2 separate regions of the Homo sapiens genome follow, and region 2 is linked to region 1. Evidence: promoter capture Hi-C in 16 types of primary human blood cells and fetal thymus (Javierre and others, 2016). All regions are on one chromosome and are shown on one strand. The core of a region is centred on a gene start or on the middle of the fragment in contact, and the rest is flanking DNA. Distances in the headings are between cores, read along the strand shown.

Evidence for each region. Contacts are between HindIII fragments. The CHiCAGO score rates a contact against its expected background, and 5 or more counts as called.
Region 2: a contact is called between a fragment that was not itself captured here and the fragment with the promoter of FAM3C in region 1, in 1 of 17 cell types (non-activated CD4 T cells). The highest score is 5.6, in non-activated CD4 T cells.

Annotation. Positions count from the first base shown.
Region 1 is chr7:121,393,462-121,400,778 of GRCh38, reverse strand. FAM3C (FAM3 metabolism regulating signaling molecule C) reads left to right here and starts at 4,471. Exons shown (of 10, transcript NM_014888.3): 1 at 4,471-4,617. It also overlaps the pseudogene CYCSP19. RefSeq lists silencers at 4,107-4,166, 4,207-5,036 and enhancers at 4,264-4,848, 4,849-5,434. The HindIII fragment of the contact is 3,372 bases long and covers 2,731-6,102 here.
Region 2 is chr7:123,543,585-123,550,901 of GRCh38, reverse strand. It overlaps NDUFA5 (NADH:ubiquinone oxidoreductase subunit A5), which reads left to right. Exons shown (of 5, transcript NM_005000.5): 3 at 316-432; 4 at 5,226-5,291. Among named protein-coding and RNA genes, the nearest start is that of NDUFA5, 11 kb to the left of the region's middle. The HindIII fragment of the contact is 884 bases long and covers 2,133-3,016 here.

The sequences.
Region 1 (7,317 bases), core at 3,222-5,721:
GAGTTTATAATCCAATATAAACATGCTTGAATATTTTAAAGTAATCCTACCCCCAGAGTTGGTCAACTCTTTTCCCCCTACAAATGTTTTCTTCCCTGATTCAGTTATTTATTGCTGTGTAACAAACTACCACAATACTTAGTAAATTTTTTTAAGTATGTTATTTCTCAAGTTTCTGTGGGTTTGTTGGTCTAAGCTGGGCAGTTATGCTCCATGTGGTACTGTCTGGAGTTACTCATGTGATATACTCAGGTAGGAGCTTAGCTGGAGCTAGAACATGCAACACGACTTTACTCATATAGCTGGTGCCTTGGGGAAGTGGTTGGGATGGTGTGGATGGAGAGAGAGAGCTAGGCCTCTCTCTGCATGTAGTTTCTCATTATTCAGTAGTTGTCTGAGTTTCCTATATGGTGACTAGATCCTGAAGCTAGTGAAAATGGAAGCTGCAAGGTCTCTTAGGGTCTAAGCCCATAAGTCACATAAGATCTCCTCCATGCATTCTATGGGTCAGAATAAGTCCCGGGGCCAGCCTAGGTTCAAGAGAAGAGGACATAGATTGACCTCTTGATGGTAAAAAACAAAGTGGCATGAACTTACAGGAATGGGGGAATTGTTGGTAGCCATATTTGCCTATAATTTACTACTCCATATACAGAAAAATGATACCAAGTGGACTCTTCTTCTTGAGGGTGGGTGCAATTAAAATTCTGAGGCTTTTTGGAAATTTTGTATTTAACAATATTATCTAATTCTTATATATACATTTTTTATATATTCTTATATAGTTACAGTAATATAAAGCAGGTTATAGTTTTATATAAAATATGGCACCTATTGAGAGAATGAACATTCCTTTCTTTTAATCATGATTTGTGGTTTTGTTTTTAAGCCTTATGATCACATATAATTTTAAAATTTGTGTATATCTCCTCTACTTTAATCATTTTAAGTTGGCAAAAGCACCATTCCCAATCACAAATACACAGCAGTTCTACGATTTTCTGTTTCTGAATGGCTTTTTTTTTTTTTTTTTTGAGACAGAGTCTCACTCTGTGGCCCAGGCTGGAGTGCAGTGGTGCGATCTCAGCTCACTGCAAGCTCTGCCTCCCGGGTTCACGTCATTCTCCTGCCTCAGCCTCCCCAGTAGCTGGGACTACAGGTGCCCGCCACTACGCCCGGCTAATTTTTTGTATTTTTAGTAGAGACGAGTTTCACCGTGTTAGCCAGGATGGTCTCAATCTCCTGACCTCATGATCTACCACGCCCAGCCTCTGAATGGCTGTTTAAAGACAATCCTAAATTATAACTTAGTTTGACTTAGATTGTAAATAATTCAAGAGTGAAGTTTAACTTGCTACTATTTTAAAAGCATATTATCTTACAGATCATCTATAAAATGTGAGAAGTGTTAAATAATCTTTATTTGATATTACACATACACCACACTAAAATGCCTTTCAATAAGTAAAAGGAACTATTTTAAATACAGGGAATTCTAATTAGATTGACATAGTTAAGGCCAAAAATATAAAGTAGACATTGCTACCTTATCTTCAACCCTTGCCTTTAAGAGGCAAATGAACACAAAACACAGGTGAATCTTGCTTGGTTCTGAGATAGTGAAGGAATTTCTCCAGTATTTAAATATATTCACATAACCAGTTATATAAATCCAAATATAAAACCAATCTCCAATATGTTTTAAGATGGCATTCACCATCTTTGTGAAAAGCTGAACATTACTAACAAAGTCTAATCAAATCATGTCTTTAGAAAGGGTAAACAGTGATAGCATTTACTGAATTGGATTACTATTAAAATTCAAAAAAACTGAACATATTCATTTAACTGCAAGCCAGTCTTAGTTTTACATCAGGACTGCCCAACAAAATATTCTGTCAGTTATTCATGATCTGAATTCTGGTGTGTGAGGTCTATTAAATTATGGTACACATAAAAAAGTCATAAGACATTTCTGTTTTGTAATAAATAAGGCAGTGGCCAATTATTATTCATTAGTAGCTTTTTTGAGATAAGCTATCAAGTCTGCTCTTTCTGCCTTCTTCTTAATGCTGGCAAAGATCACTTTGTTCCAGAGATGTGCTTCTTGGGATTCTCCAAATACTCCATCAGTGTATCCTCTCCCCAGGTGATGCCTTTGTTCTTAATGGCATCTGTGTAAAATAATCCAACGGCTTGACCTGTCTTCCATCCGAAGAGACCATGGAGATTAGGCCCAGTCCTGTGCTTGCCTGCCTTTTCCACAGTGTGGCACTGGGCACACTTCTGAATACAAATCTTCTTGCCTTTCTCAACATCATCCATATTTAATCCTCTCTTTTGTTGCTTGTGCTATGAAGGATGACACTCAGAAGCTGGATGTCACACTCTCTGTATATTCTTTTCGAGTCAACAAAAAAGTTGGGCTTTGAAGTTGAGCACGTGAGTTTGAATCTTAGCTCTGTCTGGTCATAGCAGAAGGACCTTGAGCAAGTTTCACTTTTCTCCGCTGTATTTATAGGATTATTGTGAGAATTAAATAAGTCTATATATATAAAGTGCTTAGAAAAGTGCCTGGTGCACAATAAGCACACAATAAATATCAGCTTTAGAAATATACATTATCAGTAGCTATTATTATATAATATAAATTATCGGTAGTTATTGTAATAGCCAACACCTTTGGCTTATACCTCCTGGAGCTGTAAAGCTCTGTGGTTTTATTAAGCTTAATCATTAATCCTGAATACTTCTCCTGGCTCCCCTACCTCCTGCCAAGTAAAAGTAGGAAGTTATCCTTACTCGTTTATAGGTGTAAGAACTGGCTGATTAACAGGAGTCCTAAAGAAGTGATTTACCAATGTTAAAAAAATTGAAACCCATATTAAGAAATATAATTTCTACTGTATCCAGGACATAGACACACAGACACTCACCCACACATGATGCTGTACAAATGTTTCATGAAGAATACTTATCCTGAATTTATGCTTTGAACTGTTTTTTTTTTCTATTTTTCAGTGAATCAACAGCAACAAAATGTTGGTTGTGACCCATTGTTATTAATTTCATTACCTACCAAAGGGTTCTAAGCTATATCTTATGGTCAGTGGAGAATAGGCTACTAACACATTAAACTTTATGCACAGGAATTGTTTCAGGTGTGGTGCTATAAGAATATGTCACATGTAATTTCCAATCTGGTTGGCTCGGTTACAGAGCAGATTGCTCTTTCAGAAATACACCGTGACCTCCCTACTCAAGAGGCTTCATAAACTCTTTCAGTGAGACATAGCAGTCTAGGAGAGGCATGTGTACAGTAAGTGTTATGATTTTTTGGTACTATAATAAGCAAAGTGCCTTTTTGTTTATTTGGAGCTACATGAAGCTAGGCCGGAATTCCAGCTTCATAACTTACTATCTTGTATTTTTGAGCAAGATATTTAAACTCAGTTTTGGAGTCTTAGTTTTTTGATTTAAGTAATACACAAATAGCATAATATTGGCACATGGAAGACAATGAGAATTCATTTCATGCTTTCTCCCCTGATCACGGATCACAAACTCCAGAATTCATAGTTACTATTAGTTTGTGTGTTTTATATTTTTGGAGGAAAGCTAAAATTTGGTAGATTATTAATTCTATATTAACACACTATAGTCAAACCCTATTTTTAAATGCAATTTAATTTCTGCAACCACTGATGATCCCAATATTCTGTCAAATACTAGGTAACAGTTATTCATTATTTTAGAATATGGATCTGAATTATGAAATAATTTTGCATTCTAAGGTCTTATGTAGTAAGATTTGGATTAACTTCCCAATTATCAACACAATTGTAGGAAATCTCCTGAGAAAAAATATTTCTAACGATTGTGTATCTTATAATTTAAAAAATAAACGTGACTTGGAAAATGCAAGGACTACTGTTCTTCTTGGGTGGTGCATTAAAGGTGATCAGAATTCTAATGACGCTGGACAGTAGGATTTTCAGAATCAGTTTCCTAGGGTTCAAGAAGTCAAACGGCAAATAACCCAAGGTCCTTGGTTGATCTGACCATCTCAGCTATCTCAAGATATATAAGATGACCTAACTGGCGCATCTCTAGGATGGGTGGGTCATTTAAAATGTTCTGCCCTTGAGGCTGGGATTTTGTGCGTGTAAACGGTGGGGAGACGGCGGTGACACATTTTTCTCCCTCCCGTAGTGCCACCCGGCGCAGGGCCGCTGCGGCGGCGGCAGCTCCCACGTGGCAAGTTCAGATTGTGCAGCGCCTGGCCGGGGGCGGTGGGCGGGACCGCAGACCCCTCCCTCCGCTCTCCGGCCCTTCCCTCTGGCCGGCCCGGGCGCCCGCTTGGTCCTCCACCGCCAGGGGGCGGGCGCGGCTTCCCGGCGGCGGGGGCCCATTGGTCGCGGCCGGGAAGCGTGGGAGGAGGCCCAGCGGCGAGCTGGCTTTCTCCTGGCCACTTGCCGGGGTGAGGGGCAGCCGGAGGAGTCCGAGAGGAAGCGGAGGCGCGAGCTGGAGGCGGCGGCTCCCGTCGGCCTCCGGCAGGACTGAGCGCTGGGAGGCCGGAAGGCGGGCGCGCGCGGCGGAGAGGCGGGCGGGAGGCCGGTGAGACGGCTGGGAGGCGGACGGAGCCGGGGCTCAGGTTCGGGGAGGGATGGAGGAGGCCGGGGAAGCCAGACGCCCACCTACGACTTCAGCCTCCGCGCACTGCGGTCACCGGCCGGGGGCGGGCCCCGGGCCCGGCCGCGTTGTCACGGCGTGTCCGGACGTTGGAGAGGGCGCAGGCGGGACTGGGGTCCCGGAGAGCCGCTGGCCGGGGTTCCCGGCCGCCGCCCCGGCGTGGGCATCCCCGGGCTCCGCGGAGACGGGGCGGCGTCTGCACCTGGCGCTGGCACTCGGCGCCCCGGCCTGGGGCGGGCACCTGGGTCGCATCTTCCCCAGGTTGGCTGTGGCTCGCGCCCCTGCAGCGTGTAGGCTGAGAGCTCCGAGAGGTGGGGACGGAGTTGGGTGTTGCATTCCAACTCCATAGGGGGCCGTTTTGACTCACTTGTAAAGTTTTAGTGTCGCCTATACTAGAGGTACTTTTGGTTTTTTACAAGCTATCCAGCCCTTTGATGTTTGGTGTCTCTTCTTTTTCTTCCTATTTGTTTGCTACTGCTCTCACAGCTCGGGACCACGGATGATGATTAGTGGCCCTAGATCTGAATATGTGAGTGACGGATTGGCAATTTGAGATTGAGAGCTCCAGCTGTTTTACTTGTGGGAGGAGCGGTTTCCATCATCCTCTACCTTTTTTTTTTTTAAGAAAAAATATTATTGCCTGTAATATAGAACTGCTATCTAATTGATAGGACTTTTCCTTTGTTTCTTTTTGGCCAACATGGTGAAACCTCGTCTCTACTAAAAAATAAAAAAATTAGCCAGGTGTATGTATCCATATATATATATGTATGTATGTATCCATATATATGTATGTATCCATATATATGTATGTATCCATATATATGTATGTATCCATATATATGTATGTATGTATCCATATATATGTATGTATCCGTATATATGTATGTATCCATGTATCCATATATATGTATGTATCCATATATATATGGATACAATGACATAAATAATATTAGATTGCTTACTGTGTACTAGGCACTGCCAAATGGTTTCGTGTGCTCATTTATTCTCACAACAGCTCAGTGAATAAGTCCCTTTATCTTTTCTAGTTTTACAGATGGAAATATGAACTCCCGAGAGTAAAGGTCAATGCTGATAGCAGAGGCCCCGACCCCTTGGACTTGTGGCCAATTTGCAGTTACGTTTTCTTAAGTCTTGGGAACCGTTACTATTAGTCATACAGTATCTTACAGAGTACCAGCAGATCTCTATTGAATTTAGAAAATAAAAGTTAATCACTTACTGAAAGCCATTTAACAAGAAATTGGCAGAATCAGCAAATCAGCATCCGGTTTTGGTCACTTCATCGACCTGTACCTCTTTCTAGAGGCTACTAGTAGTCTCTTGTGTTTCTTGGCTGTTTACCAATAAAGTCACAAGGTTTTCAGTTTTATACAGGTATTAGAAGCTTTGTTTCACAGATTCTTGTAATGTTTTCTCAACTCAATAAAGACTAGCATTTCTTCATAGGAAGAAATAAGAAGAGTTGGAGCCAATAAAAGGAGTTCAGTCCAGCAGTTCTCAACCTGAGGACCTCTCTGAATTACCAATGGGAACTTTGTAAGAGGGACACAGGACAGGTTCCTCAAAATCCTCATTGTAAGGGGCTTCTGTTTCAAAAGGGAGTAAAAATAAGACACTACTGGCTTAAAGTGACTTTAAAAATAAACTTAATGGATGTTTTATTACAATTACAGATTTTTAATGTGGATTGCTGCCTTAAGCATTGTCAACTAATCTTTCATAATTTATGAAGATACATTAAAAAGGAAAAGGAAATTGGAAAAGACAGCCAAAAGGCTAAGAGGCTATGGAATGGCAAAAAGTAATGTTCCCTGAGGGGGTATCAGAAGACTCATATATTTTCCACCATATATTTTAGGTTTTGAACGATTCATTTTTCAAAAATTTTTATACTCTTAAAAATACTGGAGTGCCTACCATGTACCAGTAATTGTAGATATCATGGATACTATGAATAAGACAGCCTGGGCACTCACAAAGCTACTTTATTTTCTCTAAAGCAGGGAATCTTTTTTATTTTTATTTTTATGCCCATTTCTTAAAGCTGAAAGGTGCAAGACCCAAATAGCAAAAGATTTTTATGTTAGCGCTGAGCTAGATAGATTTTTGTGCGACCTTGGTATAATAGCAAAAGTTTGTCTTGAATTTAGTCCAGAAGCGTCTCTGTTCTTGGGATCAGATGATCAGGATTTGAAGCATTGATTCTGTATTTAGTTATTTCAAGAGTGGCATTGACTAAATTACTTAATATCATGCAGTCCTTTTTAATCTGATTGAGTAGACTGAACCAGGTAATTTCCCAAAATCTTTGAACTTTTAAAAGGTTTTGTACTTTCTTTTAATGCAATTCTTTGAGACACAATCGGCTGACTTCCTCTCAGAGGAGGAAATTAAGTGTTGTAATACCCCTAAGTCTTTCCAGTGTACCCATTAATATTCTTTTTCTTCTTCATTGGCCTGCTCCATTTGATTGAAGCTATTCTTATATTTCCCTTATTTTTAATCTAATTTTGAAAATCCGCTATTCATGATTTTTCTAACTTCAGTGAGTTTTTTCTTCCAATTTTCTTTTTTAAATTAAATTCCTGTAACAGAATTTTT
Region 2 (7,317 bases), core at 1,325-3,824, 2.2 Mb before region 1:
GATTTCCCAAAAGGTCCTTAGCAATAAGTTAGTTTTGTTTCTACTTGTTATCATACCTTTGACTTATCTAGAACTTGTTATACACAGAAAATACAGAATGTTCCCATGTTTATATACAGGTTTTTCCTAAGTTATAAAGGGTGTAGATAGGGCACAGACATAAAGAAGTCAGAGCAAAGAAGAGTTAAATTAAAAAAAAAAAGCAAAAAAAAAAAACAGATGTGAGTTTTGTTTGTTTTGTCTTTGAGACAAGTGTTCCATTAAGTCTTTGGTAATATTTTAACCTATGGAAATTTGTATGGTTTGTCTTTTCAGAGGCTAAGAATATTGTACACAAAGATTCTTGATGTTCTTGAGGAAATCCCTAAAAATGCAGCATATAGAAAGTATACAGAACAGATTACAAATGAGAAGCTGGCTATGGTTAAAGCGGTAAGTAGCTAAGTCAGTTTTGTTGTCTTGTGTAACATTTAACCAAAAAAGTTTAGTTCCTTATTTTTTATATATTCGACACACTTTTCTTCTATTCTCCTTCCTTGAATGCTCTTTTCCCATCATTCCTCCCTTTTATTCAGCAAACTCTTGTTTATTGAGTGTTTTCTATATGCAGGCCTCTGTTACATACTGGAGTTTGAGACTAGGATCAGATCCTTCCTTGAAGTAACATTGTAGCTGTTCCTTTTACCTCTCTTCACTATTTAGTCCTTTATTGATCTTTTGCTTTTTATCTTGGATATATCAATCTTGATCTCCTTTTTCTAATCTTAGAGAACAATAAAAGCAAAACAAAAAAGGGCATTTTTTTTTCAAAGAAACCTGTCAAAAAGACTAGACTGTTATTAAGTAGCAGTTAATAAAAGTCTAGACTGCTGATTCATACCAAACTATATTGTACTATTGTTAAATTTTCACACTAGCAATCATTAAATGGACTTTATGTAATTATCTAAAATAGTGCTTAGAAACTCTGAAGGTAATTTATATACATGCATAAGTGATCCTAGTCACATATATTTCTTCTTATTAGATTACCAGACTATATAGTTCAAAGAGAATTCCTATCTTTCGTTAGGTATGCAACAAAACAATGCAGTTTGTATTATATCGTATTTTGTATTGTATTATATGATGGGTCTCACTCTGTTACCCAGTCTAGAGTGCAGTGGCACGATCACAGCTCACTGCAGCCTTGACCTGCCAGTCTCAAGCAATCCTCCTACCTCAGCCTCCCAAGTAGCTGAGACCACAGGCACTCACCATCATGCCCAGCTAATTTTTAAAATTTTTTGTAGAGGCGGAGTTTCACTGTGTTGCCCTAGCTGATCTCAAGCTCCTGGCTTCAAGTGACCTTCCTGCCTTAGCCTTCCAAAGTGCTGGGATCACAGGCATGAGCTACCTGCACCCGGTGCCTCACCTATTTTATCATCATCTTTCAAATAGCCTCAAATGTTTTTAGCTTGTTCCTATCTTAAAAATAAAAAAAACTGTATGCTTGTATTTTCCTTTACTTATTGTCCTATTTTTGTTTTCTCCCATAGCCAGTTTCAACCAAAGAAGAGTTTACTCTCATACTTCTTTACTTACTGGTTCCAAAATCCTTTTCTCTGCTATTTAAACTGCCTTATAACTAATTGATCTGTTTGTACTTCCATTATACTTCATTACATGCTCCACCATACAGCCAATAATAGACTGATTTTTTTTTCAATATGTAAATCTTGTGATGGTACAGTTGTCCCTTGGTATCCATGAGGGATTGGTTCCAGGATTCCCATGGATGCCAAAATACAAGGATGCTCAAGTCCCTTATATAAAATGGCATAGTATTTGCATATAACCTATGCACATCCTCTTGTATACTTTAAATCATCTCTAGGTTACTTATAATACTACAATGTAATGCTGTGTAAGTAGTTATACTGTATTTTAAAAATTGCTGTATTGTTATTTTTATTGTGTTTTTTTGAATATTTTCCATCTGTGGTTGGTTGAATCCATTCTTAGTTGAATCCACAGATGCAGATCCTGAGGGCCAACTGTGCTGTCTTGCTTAAAATCTTACTGTGGTTTTCTGTTCAGTGTTTCTCAAAGGCTGAGTTTAAGGATTTATGTTGAGCTGGTTGTATGAAGCTTGCTTAGCTACCTTTATCTGCATGATTTTGATGTGTGGCCATGTTTGGGAACCACTGGCCTAACAGGGTAAAAACATGGTATAGAAGGCCTTCTAAGTTCTGGCTCTTGGTTATTTTCTCAATCTGATCCTGTTGCTTCCTGTTTTATACTCTATACTTAAGCAGTACCAAACTGCTGGCAGTTCTGTGGATTCCTTGCATTTTTATTTTTGTGTTCATTTGTATTTTCTCATTTCCTGGAATGCCTTTACGTTGTTTGGTAGTTCTTACTTTTTCTTCATAAATCATCACTTCTTCTGTGAAACCTTTTCTTACTTTCTTAAGTAGAGTTTGACAACTTTGTTACCTCCTTTCCATTGTACCTTCATGCTGTATTATGTCTCCACCAGCCATAAGCTACTTGTTAATGATATTGGATTCAACTTTGTATCCTTAGACTCTAGCATGGTACCTGGAACATAAGGTTCCTTAGAAATGTGTCTTTATCCCAAAGGCTAGATATAACCCCAAACACTTAACAGTTGTATCTCTGATTCCTGTTTTTGGTAAAATTATCACAGATTTTTAACCCTGCATACAGCCACACACAAAATCTTTAGTGAATATTGCCATTATTATAAAATATCTATTTACTAAGCCTAAGGTGGAAATAAAAGTAACTTTTTTTTTCAGATTATTACTAGGGAGATAGTACTATTTTGGTGAAAAGCGTTGTTTGTGTCCCTGTCCAAGATTTTCATCTTAGTTCTAATACTTATTTGTGGAGTGACTTGGCATATTGCTAGTTTTCTCGGTCTCAATTTCATCATCTATAACGTGGGTATAATAATACCCACCTCGAACACTTTTTGTTAGAACCGAATGAGGTAATGCACGTAAAAGCTTAACATAGTCCCAAGTATATAGTGAGCATTCAGTACATGGTACCTTATCAAGTTTAATAGCATTATGCCATTGGTGACTAAAAATCACATTATTCACTATCGGTAAGACAAATTTTGAACTGTTCACCTAACACAGGCTTTTTCTGAAATGAAAGTGTCGTTGAACTTTCCTTGCCTTCTTTACCTTCACTCTCCTGAGTCTCTTATAACAGTGACCAGCTTCCCTGTTTTGTTTTTGATTTTTGGTCTCTCATATGAGTTAATTCCCTGTTAAATAATCTGTCTTAAACATGCTTATTACTTTTTCCCCTTTTCTCCCCCTTTCAGCTGTTTTTTATGTATTCACTTCTTTAACCAAGAAACATTTATTGAATGCCATGTATGGTTCTAGGCATGGAAACTTGTGCCTAGTTGGCACAAAACAGATAAAAATCCTTTCCTTCTTGGAGATTACATGTTAGTGATGGGAGACCAAAAGAAAAAAAAAAAGTAAAAACTGAGTAAAGACGTACATAGTGTGTTAGAAAATAGTAAGTGCAGTGAAGGAAAATAAAACAAGGAAAATGTGTGCCATGGTGGGGATAGGGGATGTTACACTATGTATTAATTTCGTATGGCTGCTGTAATATTCCCACAAACTTGGTGGCTTAAAACAATGTAAGTTTATTTTATTAGACTTCTGGAGGCCAGAAGTTGGAAATCAACATCAGGGACCCAAATCAAGATGGTGTTGTCAGGGCTGTGCTTCCTTTGGAGGATATTGGGTAGAATCTGTTCTTGCCTCTTTCAGCTTCTGGTGGCTTTTGGCATTTATTGGCTTGTGGTCTCATCACTGCAATTTCTGCCTTTGTGGTTACATTACCTTTTCCTTTTCTGTGTGTAATATCCCTCTGCCTCTCTCTTATAAGGACACTTATAATTGCAGTTAGGGACTATATGGATAATTCAGGAAAATCTCCCCATGTCAGCATCCTTAACTTGATCATATATGTGAAGTCTTTGCTGTATAAAGTAACACTCACAGTTTCTAGAAATTAATACATGTATATCTTTTGTGGTATTTTTCAGCCTATCATAATGCAAATTATCAGTAGTTAATCAATAAGAAGGTGTTATTTGAGCAAAGATTTGAAAAGTGGTGAAGAAACAAGTGATGCAGATACCCTGGGCCATCCAGCAAGATACCCTGAGGCAGTAACATATCACGTCTTGTGTTGAAAAGCAAAATGTATTATTTTCTCCCTCTTTATTCCATTTATTGGCCAGAAAAACACCCTGAAAAGACAAAGCCTTATTTACATATGTGGGTATATTTACAGAGCATGATTTCTGGCTCAAAAAGCTCAGTTTACTAGAAAATAACTAAATGTCATTGAATGTTCTAGGTACTATATTTATTAACATTTTGTTCTTAAAAACTTCTATTAAATAATTATATACATTACAAATGTGTAGAAAAAAAGGACTTTTCCAGAACAACAAAACCCTTGCCTCTTCCCCTTCAATTTACTACTTGTAAAGTTAATCTCTATTTGGACTTCTTTTTGCCTGTTTTTGAATTTTATATAAATGAAATCATTAGTATGTACTGTCTTATACATACTGTACTCTGGCTTGTGCTTAATACTGTGGTTAAGAGAATCACCTATATTGTTGCATACAGTTTATTCATTTTCATTGCTGTGAAGTATTATATCCAAATATTATAATTAATTGATCCATTCTATTACAGATGATCATTTGGGTTATTTCTAGTTTGGGGCTATAATTTGTGCTGCTGTGAATATTCTCAAACATGTTTTTTAAAAAATATATTATGCATTTCTGTTTGGCATTATGCCTAGAAGTGTAATTTCTGGGTCATAGAGTAGCATTTATTTCTAATTCTAATGCTCTCAGAGGAAATACAGGAAATATTAAGAAAGCAAAGTCATATTTTAAAATCTGTTTTAGGAAGACTGAATTTGACATTGTATTTCTGTCCCTTGATCAGCATGTCAATAAACATTTAGCACTTTTCAATATTAAGACAGAAAAGCAATGAAATAGCAGAGGTGAAATGAATTTTCACCAAATATTTAGTAAAAAGAGTATGATGAAAGAAAAGTTGTATTTTTAAGTGTTTTTATATAGGAATTTTAAAATATATAGGATATTGAAACATTCAGTTAGTATGCTTCTTTAATTTTTTTTCTCCCTGAAATTATAGGAACCAGATGTTAAAAAATTAGAAGACCAACTTCAAGGCGGTCAATTAGAAGAGGTGATTCTTCAGGTAAAGAAAAAGTTGACTATTTAGGTGTTTGGTTTCATAGAGACACACAACTGACGTTCTAGAATGAAAGGAAAACTAAATTTCCTTGTTTATATCAACTCGTCAAATATGTAAGACTAATCACATATAGAAAATGTGGTGCTTCTCATGTGTATGTTGATTATAGTATTTATTGTTGATTATAGCATGAATTTATGAGACTTCTGTTAGAAGCCTGGAGTTTGACACTCTTTTAATTTAATTAGCATGTTCTCCTTGGCCTAACCTTAGTTTAAATTGGTAGCACAATATTACTGTTGTTTTAATAGTTGTATCTTATTTTAAGAGTGTGGCATATTTTTAGTAGGGAAAAATACAGACATTTTGAATTATAAAATTAAAATGTACTTTTATTTTTATTTTTGGTTCTTGAGCATTTGAGCAAGTTAAAAAACAATTGCATAGTATATTTGAGAGCTTAATTCTACATTATTTCCCAAATACTAACCCTGACAAATAATATTGAGTAGTAAAATGTAAGCATGATTATGAAGAGACTGAGATTAGAAAAATTATTAACATTATTAATTACATTTAGAATATTTAAATCTTAAATTATTCTATTGGGAAATTTTCTTCTCCTCTCACTATACCTGCTGCTTATACAAGAGAACAAACACCGCAGTTTAGTTTTATTTAATCTGAATTTTAATTCTTTTCCTTTGGTCATAGTTAGGTTATAGAAATAGATAGGTTACTGATGTAAATAGGCTGGAAATATACTATTTTGAGTATTCCGTAGTTGGTTTTTTAAAGCATCTATGGGAAAATAATGATAACTCTTTTTTTTTTTTTTTTTTTTTTTTTAAGATTTGCATCTTTTTTCTCCAATTGCTAGTAAGGTTAAACTTTAAAAATATGTTCTTATATTTTATAAATTATGTCATTAATATTTTTACTGGGTCATTTAGTCTGGGTTATTTATACATGAGTGTCTTTTTATAATAAAAGATATTAACCTTAAACTTTTCTGACATTGTCTGCACATACTTTTTCTAGCCTGCTTTTGCCTCTCAAATGGGGTTTTTCCCCCATATGTAGAGGTTTTCAATTTTTTTTTTTTTTTTTTTTTTGAGATGGAGTTTTGCTCTTGTTGCCCAGGCTGGAGTGCAGTGGCATGATCTCGGCTCACCACAACCTCCGCCTCCCGGGTTCAAGCAATTCTCCTGCCTCAGCCTCCTAAGTAGCTAGGATTACAGGCATGTGCCACCACATCCAGCTAATTTTGTATTTTTAGTAGAGACAGGGTTTCTCCATTTTGGTCAGGCTGGTCTCGAACTCCTGACCTCAGGTGATCTGCCTGCCTCGGCCTCCCAAAGTGCTGGGATTACAGGCGTGAGCCACCCTGCCCAGCTCAAATTTTTTTTATTTGGTGAAATTTTGTTGTTCCACACCCCTACAACCCTCATATTATAGGTTTAGAATGTCTTCATCTTATAAGTGTCTGATAAATATTCAATTGTTTCATTTAATTTTATTTTGTTGCATCTTTTTTCAAATGTAACCCTTTCTAATGTTTTCTTACTGTTGATTGAAGGACAGATAAAAGGAAATATTGGATAATATTGGAGATTAGGGAGGTATATCACCAACAGACATGATATACCAAATCAAAAGAATTGTTAGATGGCTCTGGAAAAAGAGGAATATAGCATTCAGACAGCTTTCTATGAATGTAGACTGTTTCAGTTATTCAAAGGCCTGTTTACCTGGCCTTTATATTCGTCAGGTTGGCTGTGGTACTAGATACAGTGTTATGGGAACTTGCCGCAAACCTTATACTGTTGCCCTATACCTATTTCTCTTTTCTGTACCACCTGATTTCACTTTGATCATGACTTTATTTAGTTGATACATCAATTTTTCATGGAATTAAGTTTTAAGGCATATTAAGTATTTTTAAGTCAGCTGTGCAGTTCCCCATGTTTTCATGGTCAGTATTAAGGGTAAATTAATTTTAGTATTTTTTTAACTCAGTATATGTAGT